Linked DNA regions of Homo sapiens: region 1 is linked to region 2. The links are contacts of gene promoters, found by promoter capture Hi-C in blood cells and fetal thymus (Javierre and others, 2016). All regions are on one chromosome and are shown on one strand. Each heading gives the region's core, a stretch centred on a gene start or on the middle of the fragment in contact. The rest is flanking DNA. Distances are from core to core; before and after follow the strand shown.

What was found. The method cuts DNA at HindIII sites, captures the fragments that hold promoters and counts their contacts. A CHiCAGO score of 5 or more calls a contact.
Region 1: a fragment that was not itself captured here is called in contact with the fragment with the promoter of NRXN2 in region 2 in 1 of 17 cell types (naive B cells); the score reaches 5.1 in naive B cells.

The regions. Positions count from the first base shown.
Region 1 is chr11:64,208,314-64,211,437 of GRCh38, reverse strand. It overlaps FERMT3 (FERM domain containing kindlin 3), which reads right to left. Exons shown (of 15, transcript NM_031471.6): 3 at 594-827; 4 at 267-386; 5 at 1-163. Among named protein-coding and RNA genes, the nearest start is that of FERMT3, 3.2 kb to the right of the region's middle. RefSeq lists enhancers at 2,869-2,948, 3,009-3,124. The HindIII fragment of the contact is 4,283 bases long and covers 1-3,124 here.
Region 2 is chr11:64,721,611-64,724,673 of GRCh38, reverse strand. It overlaps NRXN2 (neurexin 2), which reads left to right and starts at 1,477. Exons shown (of 23, transcript NM_015080.4): 1 at 1,477-1,703. RefSeq lists an enhancer at 587-636 and silencers at 1,017-1,316, 1,303-1,597. The HindIII fragment of the contact is 9,459 bases long and covers 1-2,361 here.

The DNA of each region.
Region 1 (3,124 bases), core at 153-2,652, 510 kb after region 2:
TGGAGCTGGGTCTTGTCTGACAGGGAGCTGGGCCGTGGCAGACGCTGGAGCAGGAGGGGGTCGGGTGGCGGCTGGGGCCGGCTCAGCATGTGGTAGCAGGCCTCAGTCTGGGCGCTGTCCGAGAAGTGAGCTGGCATCCCCCGGAACAGTGCAGGTGCCACGCCTGGAGTGCAGGTTGGGAGTCAACCAGGCCTGTCCCCCAGGGCTGGGACTCACGGGCCGGCCCCTGCCCCCAACCCCCCAGGCCCACCCCCACTTGCACTCACCCCCAGCCAAGACAACCTTGCTCAAGTCATAGAGCTCTTCCTCTGGCTCCTTCTCTTTCTTCTTCTTCTCCTTCTTCTCAGGAGCCCGGAGCAGGGACAGCTCCTCGGGGTGCCGGATGCCTGAGGGGAGCTAGGGTCTCAGCGGGGACTAGGTCCTGCTGCAGCCTCCCCACCTCACCCATGGGTGCTTGGGGCGGGTCACAGCCCTGCAGGCAGGGTGGCAACCCAGACAGCAAGGACAGCGTCAACAGAGCTGGGCCTGGAAACGGGGGAACCTGCCTCTTTGCATCACCCTCGTGGGCCAGGGGAATCAGCCGGGCAACTTACTGAGGAGGCGGCAGATGGCAGCCACAGCCTGGAAGAGGGGCTGGGAGAAGCTGGCACGGAGGCGCAGTGCGCGGCGGTTGGGCAACCGAAGGATGACGGGCCGGTGCTGGGGCCCAAAGAAGAGGCGTGCGTCGGCCAGGATCCCGTACTTGTCCAGTGTCCAGTGGGTCTGCAGCAGCCACTGCCTCTTCTGTTCCCACCAAATAGCATGGTCTGACCAGTCCTGCTTGCGATCTGTGGGGCACGGGGGCACATCTGGGTCCAACCTTCCTCCCTGGTGCCCCCAACACCCAGCACAACCCCAGGATTCAGAAGCCTGGGGCGACCACTCCCCTGCCCTGCCTAAGCCAAGAGTGGGGCAGCCTGGGCGGGCCTGGGGTCTACCCCATGGTAACAGCAGCAGGGCTCTCTGCAGGCAGCCCCTGATTTGGCCTTCTAGGCTTGGCTTCTATATCGCTTCCCAGGGGAGCTCTCCAACCCAGCATCTGAGTGCCCCAATCTTAGCGCCCCATCTCTTGCATTCCAGCCCACTGGGCTCCCTCCACATGACGCCCCCTCTGTCCTCCCATAATCCACGGTTTAACAGCCTCTGTCTTGCATTCTGGGGAGCTCCTGGAGGCAGAGACTACGTCTGTCTCACCGTTGTATGTCCTCAGGGCCTGGACCTGTGCCTGGCCTGGAGCAGTGAGCACTCAATATTTTTAGCTATTAGCTGTGTGACCTTGGACAAGCCACTTAACCTCACTGGGCCTCAGTTTCCCTGTAAGATACAATAACGATCTTACAAACTGGGACACGGAACAAGGCCTCCCATGTGGTAGCTGCAGGGTTTGCAGCAAACTTGTGCACGCACATGACGATCCATGAGTGAGCATTGAATTAGAGATGTGCGTCTGTCCCTTGTCAGCCAGCTGGGAACTGGAGTTACAGTAATGGAAGGCACAGGTCTCCCCGCCTCCTCCCTCCAGGAGCATGAACAGGTGGGAGAGAGCATAGGAAAAAGGCTGCCGGAAAGCTGCTCTGGGCACACAGCCCTTGAGAGTTTGCAAAGCCCTGTTTCCTGAGTTCCTCCCAGGTCCTCCCGGTGAGTTTTCTGATTCCCACTGCATCCCACCCACCTCAGCCAGCCCCCAACCCCACTGCTGCACATGCCGGGCATCACCACTGCTGCCAAACCAAGAGAAGCGCTCGTCCTCCGGCACTTCCCCTCCCAGGCTGGGCCCTTCCCTCCTGGGCACCCCAGTGGGACTCTGGCTGTGTGCCGCCGCATCCCCTTGTCTTGGCTCCTTGCTCTTCTCCTGTCCTCTCTGGCCCCTCTCCGGTCCCTCTCCTGACCGGCCCCTTACCTTGTCCTTTCCCCAGGTTCGGCCTGGGACCCTCTTCTCCTGCCTCGGCCAGGTCCCCTTACTGGGTCTCCCTATTCTGTGGTTTCAGTTGCCATTTTCTGCTGCCTCCCCATGCGTGGCCCTCGGCCCAGACCCTGCCCTGGGCCCCCAGCCAGAAACCCATGTGCTGCCAGCTGAGGGGCCTGTCCACCGGCTTCCTCCTTTCCAGAACCCTCTGTTCCTGTGGCCGAGTGGCTGACACTGGGACTGTAAGCACCATGACTCCTGGTCTCGGCTTTTGGAGCTCAGCTCAGACTCGCTGTGCACAGAGGTGCCCTCTCCTAGCCAGCTCCCCCTCCTCACCAGCTCCCTACACCACCTCTCAGGGCTGGGGGACACGGACTCGCGCCAAAGGCCCAGGCATCCTCCCTTTCTCTTCTAGCCACCACATGTAATCAATGCCAATCCCACCTCTAAAATCCACCCTCCTCTCCATCCTCCCTGCCCGGCCTTAGGAGGCCCTGGTGTCTCTAACCAGGACCACAGCCTCCTCAGGGGCCTGCCGCCACCAGCCTTTCGCCTTGCTGCTGACCTTAGCAGGACAGCCTCCTGCTGAGAACCCTTCGGTGGCCACCTTCCCCTCCAGAAGAAAGTCTAGACCCCTTCTGGAGGCCTTCGGGGCCATGCAGAGCTGGCCAGGCACCAGCCAGCCTCATTTCTGGTCACGCTCCCAGCATCCTCACCAGCCGAGAGCCCTAATTCACAGCCCTCCGAGTCCCAGCGCCACCACCTTGCTCCTCCCTGCTGAGGCCACCTCTCAGGACTTCTCCTGGGGTTATCCCCATCCTGGGCTCGGGGCAGCCCCCTCCTCTGGCTCCAGGCCCCCATGATAGCGCCCTCTGTGCGGCAGCCGGCACGCAGCCCCCATGGGTCAGTCTCACCCGCTGCTGCTCCAGGAGGCCAGGGACTGGCCCGGGGCGGCCAGGCTGAGCATCAGTAGACAGAGCTGATGTGCTTAGGAGTGACAGTATCCCCACCACAGGGAACACAGAGCTAAAGGAACTTGCCCTGGGGTGCCCAGCAGCGGGTAGAGCAGCGGGGTCTGTCTGACTCCAGGTTAAGGCCTCCTGCGTTACCCTCATGCCGTGCCCTGGGGCCACCCAGGTCTTCACCACCCTCTCTCTGTTCCTCACTTCTATTCTCACA
Region 2 (3,063 bases), core at 228-2,727:
ACTCAGTAATTGACCACTCTCTTTGAAGTGCCTGGGCAGGGGTCCAGGATGACTGTGGGCAGGTCCCCTGGGTGCAGCTGTTCTGGGCATGCATTAATTGCCTGGTGTAGGTACCTGTGTGCACAAGTGTGTGTGTTCTTGGGCAGTATATGCTTCCTGTGGGTGTGTTACCATGGTGGGGCATTTCTGCAGGTGTTCTTATGTGTCTCTGGGAATGCCCAGTGTTCACAGATATGTGTGCATGGCTGTGAGTGCCCCAATGTCCATGCATTGGTGGTTGAATGTAAGTGTTCTTGCATGTTGCCTCTGGCTAAGGAAGTGCCAACTACCACCAGCTGTGCAGATCACAGACCCTGCAACAGAAACCAGGGTCCTGGAGTGAGCTGGCAGAATGGTCTGGCACACATACACACACACACTCTGTCTCTCACTGTCTCATTCAGCAGCCCAGTGACCAACCTCGGGGTATACACACTAAGTGCCAGTGTGTGTACACTTTTATTGGCGGAGTGAGTGAAGGGTGTCCCCCAGTCCCCCACACTCATACACATGCACAGTGATGCATGTACCCTTACAGGAGAGACCTGCGCCCCCCAGCACCACTCTAACTGAAACTCATGGATGGGAGGAGGAGAACAGAGAAGGGGGCTGCTGCCAGGTGCCCTCAGTCACCAGGCATGTGCAGGCGCAACCCTGCCCCCACACCTACTCGTACCTCGGTCCAGGGTTCCAGGCAGAACTGAGAGTTTGGCCTCAAACTCTGGGATTCCCATGAGGCAGGACTGGGAAACCCCCAAGTTCCTAGGTCTACCCCGCCCCCATCTCTGCCTTTCCTTCCCCCACCGCCTCCGTCTTTATCCCAGCAAAGCCCCTTCCTCTTCAGTTCTGGGGGCTCCAAGCCAGGGGCCCTCCGGACGGTGGGAGGTGGGGGCCAGGCTACCGACTGGAAAAAGCCCCCAGCAGCCATGGACCCACCGAGTCCCCCTTCTCTAGGCTCCTCGAAGCCCGGGCCCGCCCCTGGGGGTAGCCAGCAGAGGGCGCTGCGGCCCAGGCCCCGCATCAGCCCTGCTCTCGCGGCGTCCCAAGTCGGGGTCCACAGCCTCTCCTTCGGCTTGTCCCAGCCCCGCGCTGCGCGAAGACCTGCTGGCCGTGGGGGGAGGGTGCGGGACCCAAGGCCCCGAACTAAGGGGCGAGGGGCGAGGGGCGAGAGTGCTTGGGTTCCCGGAAAAGACACTGAGGCCGGGTTTGGGGCCCGCCTGGTTGGGGGCCCGGGCGCCCGAGAACCTCGAGAGGCTGGGAGGAGCGCGGGTGCTGGGGCCGGGACGCCTGGGTCCCGCGCGAGGGAGGGAGTGGGCCTGTGGAGCCGCTGGACTGGCGGCTTCTGAGCCCTTGCATTGGCTGCGCTGCTCGCCCGTCAGCGCAGCGTGGTCCAATGCGCGCGTCTCGGGGGCGGGCACTGGTGCTGATGCTGCCGTCAGTCGGTGTTGCAGGGATGCGGCGGCGGGAGCAGCCGCCCTGACTCGCGGAGCATCCTCCTCGGAGAGGCACCGCGGCGGGGCGGGCGGGCGGGCGGGGACGCGGCGGGGAGGGAGAGAGGCGCGAGGCGGCAGACACCGCTAGCCCTGGCTCTGCCACCCGTCGGAGACGGGGCGGCCCTGTAGCTCTGCTACCCACCCTCCAGCTTCTGGCGCCCCGAGAACCAGGTAAAATGGGGGGGGGGGGGCGCTGCGGCGGAGACGGGCGGGGGGCGGGAGCCGATCGGGGGAGGGGAGCGGATCGGAGGGGGCGAGGGAGGCAGGACGGATGAATTGGGGGGCGGGGGCGCCGCGCTGAGAGGGCTGGCCCGGTGACAGCGAGGAGGCAAAGCCGCTGGGGGCTTGGGGGTCGGAGGCTCCTGTGGAAGGGGCACTGGCCCTGAGAGCTGAGGAGAATGGGGAGGGGTGGGAGGAAGGGTCTTTGGGGGAAGGGATGGAGAGAGGAGGGGCATCCAGAGGACTTAGAGGGGGTTCTTAAAGGGGGGTCCCCAGTCTGTGCTAGCCCCAGAGGCTTGAAGCAGCGCCGGGCCAGAGGAGCTGTTGTGTTCTGGAGGGTCTAACCAGCGAGAAACTGGGCTTCGTGGGAGGAGAGGAGAGGGGGCTGGAGAAGAGAGAGAAGTGGAGAGGGAAGGAAAGGGGCCAGGCCAAGGGCTTCGTCCTGAGGGGACCCACTGAGGACCAGGCTTTCCTGGGGGATGGGAGCCAAGGGGAGAAGAGGTTATTGGGAGAGAGCAGAGGGGAATGTGCCAAGGTGCTCCAGGCAGAGATGGGTCTGTGCTGGTGGAGAGCTGGGAAAGATGGGGTCTGAGGGAGAGGAGCGGAAGCTTGCGGGGGAAGGCTGGGGGTGATGAGACAGGGAGACTGGGAAATCAGTAGGAGGGGGCTTTGCTGGGGTGGGAATGCGCTGGGGGCGGTGACAGGGTTCTGGTCAGAGAGTGCTGCAGGGGGAGAGGAAGCTGCAGGGCCCTTGGCTTGCTCCCCCACCCCTAAAGAGGAAGGGACCATTTCTCATGTCCCAGCCTCCTCCCCCAGCTGAAGCAGCAATCTTCCCTGGGGTCTTTGGGTTGGGGTATGAGCCCTTGAACCCTTGATGGGCTTTTGGGGCACAATTGGCTTTGGGGTGCTGTTGTCTCCTTTACTCTCACCCCCCTCCTGAATCTTGGGAGAGGGCATTCGATGCCTCATTGAGCTAGCAAGGGCTGGGAGGGGCTTTTTCTTGGTGTCTGGAGGTGAAGGAGGAGGCTGTCCACCTGGAATAATGAAATAGATTTTTAGGGGGTGGGTCTTGGGTCCCCAGTCCCTTGGCTGCCCTGGGGGCTTCCAGATAGCCCTGTTTTTTCATGTGTTGGCGGGTGGGCGTCTCTCCTCTTCCATTCATTCTTATCCTTCCCTGTTGTCTACCTTCCCAGTGTCTGGGTGTTCCTTTTGGAGGAGGGTGGACATTAGGGTCTTACTTTCTCTGTCTTCTGCCAGAGAAGGAGAAAGAAAGAAGGGAGAGGGAAGGAGAAGGGGAGGGAGGTCTGCAGTC